Regions from separate parts of the Homo sapiens genome. Here region 1 is linked to region 2. Evidence: promoter capture Hi-C in human tissues and cell types (Jung and others, 2019). All regions are on one chromosome and are shown on one strand. Each heading gives the region's core, a stretch centred on a gene start or on the middle of the fragment in contact. The rest is flanking DNA. Distances are from core to core; before and after follow the strand shown. Region 1 overlaps ANKFY1 (ankyrin repeat and FYVE domain containing 1). Region 2 holds the start of USP6 (ubiquitin specific peptidase 6).

Region 1 (7,258 bases), core at 4,682-7,181, 860 kb before region 2:
TGTACAGTAAATAAGCACATGAAAAGATGTGCATCATTAGTAATTAAGATGCAAATTGAAATCACAATGAAATACCACTACACACCTACTAGTATGGCTAAAATTAAAAAGTTATGGCAAAGATCTGGAGAACTAGGCCAAGCGCAGTGGTTCACACCTATAATCCCAAAAGTTTGGAAGGCTGAGGCGGGAGAACAGCTTGAAGCTAGGAGTTTGAGAACAGCTGGGCAACAGAGTGAGACCCCCGTCTCCACAAAAAAATTTTAAAAATTAGCCAAGTGTGGTGGTGTGCACCTGCAGTCCTAGCCACTTGAGAGGCTGAGATGGAAGGACTGCTTGAGCCCAGGAGTTCGAGGCTGCAGTGAGCTATGATCATACCACTGCACCCCAGCCTGGGTAACAAAAAACAAACAAACAAAAAAAAAATTGGAGAACTAGAAGCTAGAAGCCTGATACATTGCTAATGGAAATGCAAAATGGCATAACCATTCTGGAAAACAGTTTGATGGTTTCTTATAAAGCTAAACATATACTTGCCTTATGGCCAACAATTCCACTCCCAGTTATTTCCTCAAAATAAACACAAAGAATTCTATTTAAATGTTCAATGAAGCTTTATTCATAACAACTGGAAACAACCGGAATGTCCAGCTGGTAAACAGACACAACTGTCACACATCCATATAATGGAAGAGCACTCAGCAATAAAACAGAAGGGACTGATACCAGACACATGAGGTACAGATGTATCTCAAAAGCAATATGCTACGTGAAAGGAGCCAGGCAAAAAAGACTACATACTGTATGACCCCATATGAAAGTGTAGTTTCATAGTAGGCAAACCAGGATCACTTGAGGTCAGGAGTTCGAGACCAGCCTGGCCAACATGGTGAAACCCTGTCTGTACTAAAAATACAAAAATTAGCCGGACCAGGGTGGCACACACTTGTAATCCCAGCTACTTGGGAGGCTGAGGCAGGAGAATCGCTTGAACCCAGGAGGCAGAGGATGCAGTGAGCTGAGATCAAGCCACTGCACTCCAGCCTGGGCGACAGAGCCAGACTCCATCTCAACAACAACAACAACAACAACAAACCATACTAGGCAAACTATAGCAAGAGAAAGCAAATCAGTGATTGCCAGAAGCCAGGGGAATGGGACTGACTGCAAAGGAGGTCAAGGGAACTTTTTACGGTGATAGAAATCTTCTAGCATGATTGTGCTGGTGGTTATATGACTGTATATATTTGTCAACTGACAGTTTAAATTGGTACATTTTATTGTTTGTCAATTACACCTCAATAAATCTAACAACAAACTCCTTCCTCTGGGATGTACCGTGACATCTTTCTATTCCTTGCTGATCACACCAACATTTCCTTGAGGCCTTAGCATCATTCCTGTTGCCCTTCTCATCCTTCTACTTCTCTATTCTATCCCACACACATCGTTATTAATCTTCCTAAAACACAGCTCACCTAACCAAACAATTTCAGCTGGTTCCCCACTGTCTACAAAAGTACCAGTTTCCTAATGTGGCATTCTGATTCACTGAAGAAGTTTCTTGAGCCCAGAAACCATCTTATTCACTTCACTGGTAGTATCTTGAACCATGTGGCATGCGTGGTCTTTGAGCATTCAGAAACTGCACACAGAGGAATTTCAGACATCTTCTGACTTAATAAACTACACGACTTTACCTACCATGGCAGGCAGAAAAATGACACCCCCATAAGATACTAATATCCTAATCCCTGGAACCTGGGAATGTTACCTTATATGACAACAACAACAACAACTAAGTGTCTCTGCATTGACCAAAACATCATTATGCAGCACGTAACTGTTCATGTATCCTTGTAAGAGGGAGCAGGGGCTGGCCGCGGTGGCTCACGCCTGTAATCCCAGCACTTTGAGAAGCCAAGGTAGGCAGATCACGAGGTCAGGAGATCAAGACCATCCCGGCTAACACGGTGAAACCCCATCTCTACTAAAAATACAAAAATTAGCCAGGTGTGGTGGCAGGCGCCTGTAGTCCCAGCTACTCGGGAGGCTGAGGCAGGAGAATCGCCTGAACCTGGGAGGCGGAGGTTGCAATGAGCCAAGATCGCACCACTGCACTCCAGCCTGGACCACAGAGTGAGACTCCATCTCAAAAAAAAAAAAAAAAAAAAAAAAAAAAAAGGAAGGCACAGAGGGAGTCTGACCCACTCAGAGTAGGTCTTGTGAACACAGAACAGAGAGAAATTTGAAGATGCTGTCCTTGAAGACTGGAATGATGCAGCCAATAGCCAAGGAATGTCAGCAGCCTCTTGCAGGTGGAAGAATCAGGAAAAAGATTTTCTCCTAGAGCCTCCAGAGGGAATAGGGCCCTACTGAGACCTTGATTTGAGCCCAGTGATACTGATTTCAATCAGACTTCTGTCATCCAGAATCATAAGAACACGTTTCTGTTGTTTTAAGCCATCTAGCTTGTGGAAATCTGTTACAGCAGCCACATGAAACTAAAACACCTATACTTACAAACAAAAAATTCTGTATAGTAAAAGATTTTAATGCCCTAGTAACTTTTTGCTAGATTAGTGTCAACATCATTCTATGGAGTAAAAGGAAATGTACACTTTCCTGTAATATTTTGCAATAAGACAGAAAGTGGGAATTAATATTTTTTATGTCTCCTATGGCAGTTAAGTTCTTCACATTCATCATCTCAGATTCTAACTATATTGAAAAAGTAATATACTAACAGTGAAACTCACTTAAGTGAGTTGCCTAAAATCACACAATTAGCAGAAGACAGACTCAAGATTTGTGGTCTTAAGCCAGAACGCATCCCATTAACACCATGATGCCAGATTTCAGCTCCAGTATCAGAACACCAAGATTAGTCATTAATTAATCCAGGAATTAAATGAGCTCCTTCATTTCCTATAGTAAATGCACTCTACTCCCCTCCAGCCACTCCAGTTCTAACCCACACTGTATTCAGTCTTTCTAGATTCACATCACCCTGGCATTTCCTTTCTCTACACTCCTATAGTTCTTCTATTCTAGCCAAAACTTTAGCAATGAATTAGTGTTCTTCATGTAATTCTTTTTTTTTTTTTTTTTTTTTGAGACAAGAGTTTCTCTTGTCGCCCAGACTGGAGTGCAATGGTGTGATCTTGGCTCATGGCAACCTCTGCCTCCCGGGTTCAAGCAATCCTCCTGCCTCAGCCTCCTGAAGCAGCTGAGATTACAGGCGCCTGCCACCATGCCCAGCTAATTTTTTTGTATTCTTAGCAGAGACAGGATTTCGCCATGTTGGCCAGGCTGGTCTTGAACTCCTGACCTGAGGTGATCCCCTGGCCTCGGCCTCCCAAAGTGCTGGGATTACAGGCATAAGCCACCGTGCCCAGTCTCTTCATGTAATTCTTTAATGACTAAATGACTTTATACCTATTCTGCTTTAACTATGTCCATTAGATAAAAGAGAAATGATTGTAAAGGCTGTGATAACATTCTATTTGGAGAACTACAAGAATAATTTTTTGTTCCAGGCTTATATTAGGATCTTCCACAAAAAAATATTTCATTAAAGTGTCAGCTTCCCAGAAAATACTATCTTCCTTGGCATCAGATTAGAAAAGCTCTTCACTGGTGATTAATTACCACCACTACTACTTTTCTTTTTTTTTTTTCTTTTGAAACGGAGTCTCACTCTTGTCGCCCAAGCTGGAGTGCAATGGCGCGATCTCAGCTCACTGCAACCTCCGCTTCCCAGGTTCAAGCAATTCTTCTGCCTCAGCCTCCCGAATAGCTAGGATTACAGGAGTGCACCACCAAGCCTGGCTAATTTTTGTATTTTTAGTAGAGACGGGGTTTCACCATGTTGCTCAGGCTAGTCTCAAACTCCTGATCTTGTGACCTGCCCGCCTCGGCCTCCCAAAGTGCTGGGATTACAGGTGTGAGGCACCACGCCCAGCCCACAAATATGGATGTTTAAAAGCTCCCAGGTGGCCAGGCGCGGTGGCTCATGCCTGTAATCCCAGCACTTTGGGAGGCCAAGGCGGGCGGATTACGAACTGAGGAGATCGAGACCATCCTGGCTAACAGAGTGAAACCCCGTCTCTATTAAAAATACAAAAAATTAGCCAGGCGCAGTGGCGGGCGCCTGTAGTCCCAGCTACTCAGGAGGCGGAGGCAGGAGAACGGCGTGAACCCGGGAGGTGGAGCCTGCAGTGAGCTGAGATCGCACCACTGCACTCCAGCCTGGGCAATAGAGCGAGACTCCATCTCAAAAAAAGAAAAAACTCCCAGGTTAACTGTACTGTGCAGGGTTCTCCAGGTTGAGAACTATGTACTAATGGAACGAGGGAGAGAGGAAAGCACAGATGTGAGAGGTGTACAGCATCCGGGGGATTTGGTGACTGATGCAGATCTTGGGGGGAGTCGGAGATAACTTTTTGGTGACTGACTTGAGAGTCTGGCTGAAAAGTAGTGCCATTAATCATGAATATAGAAGAGAAAACCTGGTATAACTAGAAAGCAACATGCATGCTTATTTGAAATACTTTGCCTTCCCCTCTCTGTTCTGCAAGTTCCATTAAGGTTAAGGTTGTGTCTTGCTCATTTTGTCATCTCTGGCACAGTAGCTTGCACCTACCGTGAAATACGTTTTTCCTGAATGCAATTCAACTCTGCTAGGTTCGTCTGCCTCATGTTACAGTTGGTGGCATGACTTACACATCTTTCAAAAGCTCACCGTGTATAGCAGTGACAATTGGGCTGGTTTCATAAGAGATGCATAACAAATATTAGCTAACTAGCCATTTCCACCCCAAACTCCTGACTGGAAACACTTCCAACTTAGACATCACCACATAGAAGTATACTGGGCAAAGCAAATATGTCCAAAAGTGAGGTCAAAATACTTGTTCTCCAATCTATTCCTCCTCTACCTCTTAGCAGCTCAGCCATTTGTCTGAGTCATCCAGACCTAGAACTTGAGTCATCTTTGATTCTCTCTCATCAACATTCAACCAGGTTTCAAAAGTCCTGTCTTTCATACGTTCTGTGGTCTTTCTCCCATCAGTCCTCACCAGCCCCACAGCCTCTACCAAATGGCTCACCATCAACTGCTACAGCTTGCTCTCTGACTTCCTTTCTTCCCAATCCATCCTCTACACTGCAGTCATTTCGCCATGCCTCACACAATTCCTGTTCTGTCGCTACCGTGGCTGATTCCTTTCGGTAGTATCGCTCCATGAGTCTCAGAATAAAATCCAAATGCTGAACCAATGCCCTTAATAATCTGGCCCTTAACATACTCTTCCAACTTCACATCCCACTAATTCCTTCCACCTAGAACAGTGACCTCTCCTCAATCTCATGTCCCCATGTCCAAAGGAGGGCCATTTTTCAAAGCTCAGTTCAAGCAATGTCTCCTGCAACAAGACTTTCCCTGATTATCCAAAATACATTCCCCATTACTTCCTTAAAAAATCTCTCCCTGAGTTTTCAAAGTAACTCCTAAGCATTTTTTACCCTTCACCTTAAAATATAGTTTCTCATATACAATTTCTTTTATCTCCCCTCCTAGACTTCAGAACTCCCTGTGAATAAGCTTTAGTTCTGGCTATTCGTATTTAACTATCAATTACTTCTCCCTCTATACCCATTCCATGGTTATCTCCTCCTCCCGACAGTACCTTACCAGATGGAGTTCAATAAATACCACAGGTTCAACAGGAGATTCTGGGGACATAGCAATTTCTCATTTGGTTCAGCAAGGCTGTAAATCATGATAGTATCTCAAATTGCCTACAGCAAATCACCTTGCCAGTGACAGAATCCTGTGTATCTCAGCACAATTCAGTAGCTTTACTTTGACATAACCACTAATGGATAAATTTTATTTCTCAGTAAAAATAATTCACAAGGAGAAAGCTAACAGCTACAGCTGGTGACAGTAGTCACCAGGAAAGGGAGAGAAAAGAAAAGAATGGTATAAAAGGAACAGTCCTTAAGAGGTCTCTGGACTATATATAATTATCAATGACCTGGGACATTTGTTCAATAAGTAAAACAATAAACAGATAAATTTCAGAAGTAGGGCCGGGCGCGGTGGCTCACGCCTGTAATCCCAGCACTTTGGGAGGCCGAGGCGGGCGGATCACGAGGTCAGGAGATCAAGACCATCCTTGCTAACACGGTGAAACCTCATCTCTACCAAAAATACAAAAAATTAGCCAGGCTTGGTGGCGGGCGCCTGTAGTCCCAGCTACTCGGGAGGCTGAGATAGGAGAATGGTGTGAACCTGGGAGGGGAGCTTGCAGTGAGCCGAGATCGCACCACTGCACTCCAGCCTGGGAGACAGAGCCAGACTCCAACTCAAAAAAAAAAAAAAAAAGTGGAAACAGCAAAGTTCCTTCTTTCCTTATTTCTACCAGCCTCCACTAATGAAGCATTTTCTGGAACAGGACTATCCAAAGCACTTCTGGCAATGGTGCAAGTGTTCTATTAATCTGTGCTGTCCATTAGGGGGAGCTACTAGCCACATGGCTACTGAGTACTTGGAATAGGACTAGTACAACTGAGAAGTTAATTTTAAATTTTATTTAATTTTAATCAAATTTAAGTAGCCACATGTGGCTAGTGACTATTGTGTTGGTCAATGAATACCCAGGACATGGAATGTTTTCCCCATTTTGCTTGGGTTGTTGTCAAAAGTATTTTTCTGATCAAATTCCATCAAGCTAACAAAAGTTTATGATAAATTTTCTGTTCAATATACTATTTACAAAAAAATTACATTTTTTTCAATTTTTACTTTTACTGAGGAAAAGAAATGGAGAGTGATTTTAGAGGAGACTCAAGAGAAAGACTGTGCACCAGGGTGAAAGCATCAGGCGCTGTGGGAAAAGCATCAGTCGCTGTGGAAGAAACATTAGGCGCTGTGGAAAAAGGCTCTTCCTGCAACTGAGAAATATCCTAGGATTCCCACAGCTACTTGTGAGCTACAGATGATCCCCCTTTTAAAGCTGAGGACACTGAGACTGACAGCAATTAATTGACTTGCTTATGATCACAGCTTAAACTAGGATTTAAATCCATGTCCAGCTGCAGAGTCTGAGCTCTTAAACACTACATTTTATTTTATTATTATTATTTTTTGAGACAGTCTCTGTTGCTCAGGCTGGAGTGCGGTGGCGCGATCTCGGATCACTGCAACCTCCACCTTCCGGGTTCAAGTGATTCTCCTGACTCAAGTCTCCTG
Region 2 (6,331 bases), core at 634-3,133:
TCTTCCTAGGGTTATGATTCTGTATGGTTTCTTTGGTGCTGCATTAGACCTGAGCTCTGATTGAAAATTCTTCCACGCTCGCTACATTCCAAAACTTTATCTCCAATATGAATTTCCAGATGCCTCACAAGGTCTGAGCTCCATCTGAAGGCTTTCCCATGCTTGTCACATTCATAGGGCTTTTCTCCACTATGAATTCTATGATGTCGAATAAAGTGTGAGCTCTGATTACAAGTCTTTGAACATTCATTGCATTCACAAAGTTTCTTTCCACTGTGAATTCTTTGATGCTGAATAAGTTGTGAGCTCCCCTTCAAATCTTTCCCACACCCAATGCATTTATAAGGCCTCTCTCTCACCTTGTATGGATTCTCTGATGTTCTGTAAGGACTGAGTTCTGGCCAGGCGCAGTGGCTCACGCCTGTAATCCCAGCACTTTGGGAAACCGAGGCGGGTGGATCAGCTGGGCTCAGGAGTTCGAGACCAGCCTGGCCAGCATGGTGAAAGCCCCTCTCTACTAAAAATACAAAAATTAGCCGGGTGTGGTGGTGGGTGCCTGTAATCCCAGCTAATTGGGAGGCTGGGGCTGGAGAATTACTTGAACCTGGGAGGTGGAGGTTGCAGTGAGCCGAGATCGGGCCACTGCACTCCAGCCTGGCAGCAGTGTGAGACTCCGTCCCAAAAAATAACAAACAAACAAAAAAGACACCAGAGGGCTTTGGGTCCCTCTCTCTCTGCCATGTGAGGACCCTGTGAGAAGGCAGCCAGGGAGCTCTCACCAGAACCTGACCATGTTGGGCCCTGGTCACAGCCTTGCAGCCTCCAAAACTGAGAAAATAAATTTCTGTTGTCTGGCATCCAGTCTATGGTATTTTGTTACGGCAGCCCGAGCTAAGACAGAGGAAAACTGGGGGCTGATGTGACGGCGGGGACTTTAGGTAGAAGGACCCCACGTCAAAAGTCAAAGCTAAAAATTCTGGAACGAGCCAGGAAGGCATCAGGACGTCTCATTTTATTTGCTAGAGGCATCTTTTGGGGGGTGGGGCGGTGGGTGGGTGGAAGGAGATGTGGCCAGTGAGCCTCTGACTTTTAATTGAGTTATTTCGAAACAAGGAACAGAGGGCCGGATGTGGTGGGTCGTGCCTGTAATTCCAGCACTTTGCGAGGCCGAGGCCAGTGGATCACCTGAGGTCAGGAGTTCAAGACCAGCCTGGCCAACATGGTGAAACCCTCTCTCTACTAAAAATACAAAATTAGCCTGGCGTGGTGGGGGGCGCCTGTAATCCCAGCTACTCGGGAGGCTGAGGCGGGACAACAGCTTTAACCCGGGAGGCGGAGGTTACAGTGAGCCGAGATGGCGCCACTGCACTCCGGCTTGGGCAACAGAGCAAGACTCCGTCTCCAAAAACACACACACACACACACACAAAACCCAAAACGGAACAGAGGCAGTTCTGTATTCCAGAGGGATTGATTTGTGATGCCTGCTCAAAACTCAAGAAGCCACCACCCTGATACTCATCAAACCCCGGAGAAATTTCGTTTTTAGAGTGTCAGAAGGCCCCATGAATAACCTTCCAGTCACTGAGGGAGGTCCCTACTCAGCACGCCCCGGTCTCCTTCACTCTCCTGCACTCGTGCCTCACAGATGGCCTCATGCGCGGACTGGCGGTCCAGCCTCCCGGGGACACAGCCCGGGCGCACCCCGCGCCGCCTTTGGCCACTGAGGCGGTCCTCGAGGCGCCGGGCTAGGGAAAGCCTCCCCGGCCGTCAAGGCTGGGATAGCGCCGGGGGATCGGGGCGGGGTGCGTGCGCCGAAAGGGCCTCAAAGCTGTAGGGCTGGACGGCACAAAGGGGCGCAAGGCACGGAGGCCAGGCAGAGGGGACAGCTAGCGGCGCGGCGGGACGGGCGGGCCCCGACGCCCAGCTCCAAATGCGTGGCCGCTGTGGGAGCTCGTCTCCAGGCGCCCATCAGTCTTCCCCTCACTCGACGCTACCTTGGCGGCCGCGCCCATGCTGTCCCCGCTCCAACTAGCAGTCAGGAGGGGCCGCGGGCAGCGCTCGAGACGCTCATTGAGAGGACTTCCCGCCTGCGGGCTCTCTGCTCGACGCCACTCCCGGCCCCGCTCCGGGCGGCCCCCCTCACCACTCCCGGCCCCGCTCCCGGCGGCCCGCCTCACCACTCCCGGCTTCCCGGGGCTTAGGCCCGCACCATCGAGTCGAACCGAGTCCTCATGTTTTCCTAGACAAGCCGCTGGGGGAGAGGGGAAACACTTCTGGCCCATGTGAGCCGCCGTCTCGTGTGGTGTCTGAGGGGCGTCTACCTGGAGTCACTGAGCCGACGAAAGGGAAAAGGCCAGTGCCTGTCCGGGAAGAGCTCAGCCTAGTGGGGCGGGCGACAAGTTACAGTTGCTGCCTTACGATGGCCGTGGCCCGTGGAGGCACTAGACCCTCACCAGGGGTCTGTCAGGAAAGGCGGGCAGATACGTGAGGCCTGAACAGGAAGGAACTGGGAGACCCAAGACTGTACCGCCAAGACCGCTTTCGAGTCGGGCCGACCGGAATTTGAATTCGTTTCTTCACTTACTAGTTGTGAGTCTTTGGGCAAATTTGCCTTTCTAGAGCGTAGTTTCTTATGTATAAAACAGGGTTAACAGTTGCACTCACTGAGGTAAATACAAGAGAAAATTGATGGTAAGTGCTTATCACGGTACCCAACACATAGCAAGTACTGAAAAGTGATGGAGCTAGGTACGGAGGGAGCAATCTTCACAGAGGGAACAGCTCGTGGAAAGGCCACAGGGCAAGAGGGCGGTGCCTACATTCTTGGGGAACTGCAGAGAGTTCATGGGTAAATAATAGGAAGGAAAGGTAAGTACTTTGCAGAAAGCCTTCCCCAGCTAGGTGAGACTCCCCACTGTAGTATCATATGCCTCTCCTTTTTGGCACTTATGGTTGCAACTTTATTAATGATTCTAATTAGTTTCTCTTCTACAATTATAAGTTCCATCAGGCCAGAGACTTGTCCATTTATGCTCACCCTGCTTTGTAGCACCCGCTGCTTAACACATATTAAAAGCTCGATAAGCCTGGGCGAGGGGGCTCAAGCCTCTAATCCCAGCACTTTGGGAGGCCGAGGCGGGTGGATCATGAGGTCAGGAGTTTGAGACCAGCCTGACCAACATGGTGAAACCCCCTCTCTACAAAAAATACAAAAATTAGCCGGGTGTGGAGGCACACACCTGTAATCCCAGCTACTCAGGAGGCTGAGGCAGGAGAATCACTTGAACCCGGGAGGCAAAGGTTGCAGTGAGCTGAGATTGCACCACTGCACTCCAGCCTGGGCGACAGAGCGAGACTCCGTCTCAAAAAAAAAAAAAAAAAGCTCAATAAATATTTACAGCACAAGTGAATAAATGGGGTCGCATCAGAATATATATGTCACAATAAGGACTTTGGACTTCAGGCTGAAGTTAGTGGGAAATCACTGTGGAAATTTAGAGAGGGGGATGGCACTATCAGATTTGTTCTGAAGGAAGAACATTCCAGCTGCCCTGTAGAGAAGCGTTGGAATCAGGGAGGCATGTTAGGAGGCTGCGATAATAGTACAAGCAAGAGATGATGGTGGCCTCACTCTAAGGGCATTAAAAATCAAGACAAGTGAGGCCGGGTGGGGTGGCTCACACCTGTAATCCCAGGACTTTGGGAGGCCAAGGCAGGCAGATCACCAGGAGTTTAAGACCAGGCTGGCTAACATGGTGTTAGCTGGGTGTACTGGCATGCACCTGTAATCCCAGCTCCTCCCAGCTCCTCAGGAGGCTGAGGCAGGAGAATCACTTGAACCTGGGAGGCGGAGATTGAAGTGGGCCGAGATCATGCCACTGCACTCTAGCCTGGGCAACAGAGTGGGACTCCGTCTCAAAAAAAAAAAAAAAATCAAGACAAGTGGACTATATTGGCAGATTACTGGCTAGCATTCACTTATTCTACCATAGTCATGTGCTCTCTCCCTCAGGGATGGTAGTGACAGTCTTATTTCCTATTGATACAGGATTTTTTTCCTTGATTCCTTCGTGGGACTCAAGACAGGGGTGCCCTGTTTACTCAGCCCACTGTGCTCAACCTCTTGCAGGAGTGTGCAGGTGAGTGAGCAAGTGCAGGATCTGGCTGGCCACTACAGGCACCAGCATGAGCAAGCTCTTTGCGGAGCCTGTGACCAGACCAGGCATGAGCAAACGACTGCAGGATCTAGCTGGCTGCTCTGGGCAGCTGCAGGAGCAAGCTCCATTTGGGGTCTGCGGTGCTGCCCAAGTGGGGGTGCCTGTGATCCCAAATCCCCAGAGGGAGTGTTACAGTGCTCTCTTAGCGCCACTGTTTGAGGATGGGTATGTGTTAACAGCTCAGCTGGCCCCTAGCCCCATTGCGTGGGGTGGCTACCTGCCACTGGTGAGGGCAAAGGGTGAGTGTGACAGCCTTTTGGGTAGCCAAACTTGGTGGGTCCCAAGCTCTTGTCTGGCATCCAAAAAGAATGAGGTTGTGTGGAGCACTTGAAGGATGGTGAAGGTGGAGAATTTTACAGAGTGATCACAGTGGCTCTCAGCGGAGAGGGGAGCTAGAGAGGGGGTAGAAAGGGCAGGTCATCTTCTCCCCAAAGTCTGGCCATTTCTTCCCGAAAGTCTGGCCATCTCTCTCATCTACTGACTGAGTCTGGGGTCTTTATAGGCACAGGATGAGGGTGGGGCAGCCATAGGTATTTTTGGAAAAGGCAACATTTGATTGGTAAGAAGACATTATTCAGAAAGAACCAATCGGGAGGGAGTAAGCAAACAGGAATAGAAGTTCTCACTTTGGGCTGTGGGTTTCAGGCTTTTCGGCTCAAAGATGGGGTTTCACTGGGGGCCTGCCACATCTGCTTAGAATTTCTCAACTTCATGTCCTGCCTCTATCACTATCAAGTATTTATATGAAGAAACCTCTCCTAAGCCACACTCCAATCACCCCTCTTCCTCAAAGAGATTATCAGACTCTGACTTTTTCTCAGTTTTGGTCCTCTTGGAGTTTGGTTCTTTAGCTGTTTAAAATCTTATGAAGGCAAACTTTGATCATTTAGGCTCTTTTCTCAAAGTTCCAAAGTAGACTGCTCCCTAACAGGTAGGTTTTATTTTGTGGAATTCAGGTTTACAAATTGGACATTACTACATTAGCTTCTGCTACCTATAAAAGCTTTGAATAGGTGGGCTTTTATTTCATGAATTACCTGATTATCTGAAAATTAACTCTTTTGTCCTTCTTCAGCCCCCACTAAAGTGAGGTCAGCTCAGGGAATGCAGCAGAAATTCACCTGGAAGCAAGCGAGGCTGGGGCCCAGAAACCCCCTGGGCTGGGCCATGCTTCCAGTCCAGTTCCCATCTTTTATGGATGCCTAGCCCTGACCCTCAGAGGACCCTGGGTGAGGCCTGGAGGAGCCCCTCTTCCCAAATAGACTTCATTTGTCCCTTGAGGCTCAGCTCACTGCAGTTAACTAACTAATGAGTAACTCAGTGTAAGAACACACAATGCTAATTATTATAATTAATTATAATAGTGATAGTCATTAAAACAAGGAACTTCTGCCCAGCACTACAAGTGACTCACAGCCATCATCTCAGCTGATAAACAGCTGGGAGAAAGATACTCTTTCTTCCTTTTGACCCGTGAAGAAACTGAAGCTCAGAGAGGTTAAGGGATTTATCTACGGCTGCACAGGGACCCCTCCTTCAGGTCTGTCGGACTTGTATCCACCCCACCTCTCTGCCCCCTCTCCTGCCTCTCCTTTCCAGAAGGTTCTAGGTCCCAGGAACTCCAAGGCTCAACCCAAGGATAGAGATCCAAGGTCCTGCCGGGGCAGTCAGGAGGCCTTACGTGCCCTCTCCTGTGGCTTCCTTCTCAGCCGAGTTCTGTGCTGCTCTAAGCTGGGGAAGCCTACTCCCCAAGAAGCAGGACACCCGGAAGGTGTTTCCCCCTGGCTTTGAGGCTGGTTATACATTGCTTTCCTCCAGCAGATTAACATTTGCTAATGGGGCCTGGCACGGTGACACCAACGTAGGGTTGCTCTCTGCATGCCTGTGCTGTGGGGTTGGTGGTGGGGGCAAGGCAGTGGTGGGGGCAAGGTCAGGGCAGTGAGTGAGGTCGCCTGTGGTCATCCTCCACTGTGCTGGGGGGTTGTTATCTCTCAGGGCTTAGCACTTGTTGGGGATGGGTGAAGTCCAGTCCCGAGTCACAGTGTGTGTTGTGGGAGGTTGCTGATATTCATAGCCCTGTATGTTTGAGTAATGACAATATCCACCTCCAC

Evidence for each region. Contacts are between HindIII fragments. The study calls those that stand out against the background at their distance.
Region 1: a contact is called between a fragment that was not itself captured here and the fragment with the promoter of USP6 in region 2, in 1 of the 25 tissues and cell types used here (pancreas).

What each region holds. Positions count from the first base shown.
Region 1 is chr17:4,252,150-4,259,407 of GRCh38, forward strand. All of the region lies in intron 1 of ANKFY1 (ankyrin repeat and FYVE domain containing 1), which reads right to left. Among named protein-coding and RNA genes, the nearest start is that of ANKFY1, 8.2 kb to the right of the region's middle. The HindIII fragment of the contact is 5,645 bases long and covers 3,110-7,258 here.
Region 2 is chr17:5,114,149-5,120,479 of GRCh38, forward strand. It overlaps USP6 (ubiquitin specific peptidase 6), which reads left to right and starts at 1,884. Exons shown (of 38, transcript NM_001304284.2): 1 at 1,884-2,592; 2 at 4,052-4,142. It overlaps ZNF232-AS1 (ZNF232 antisense RNA 1), which reads left to right. Exons shown (of 3, transcript NR_135658.1): 3 at 10-234. It also overlaps a transcript of ZNF232 not described here. The HindIII fragment of the contact is 4,107 bases long and covers 1-2,569 here.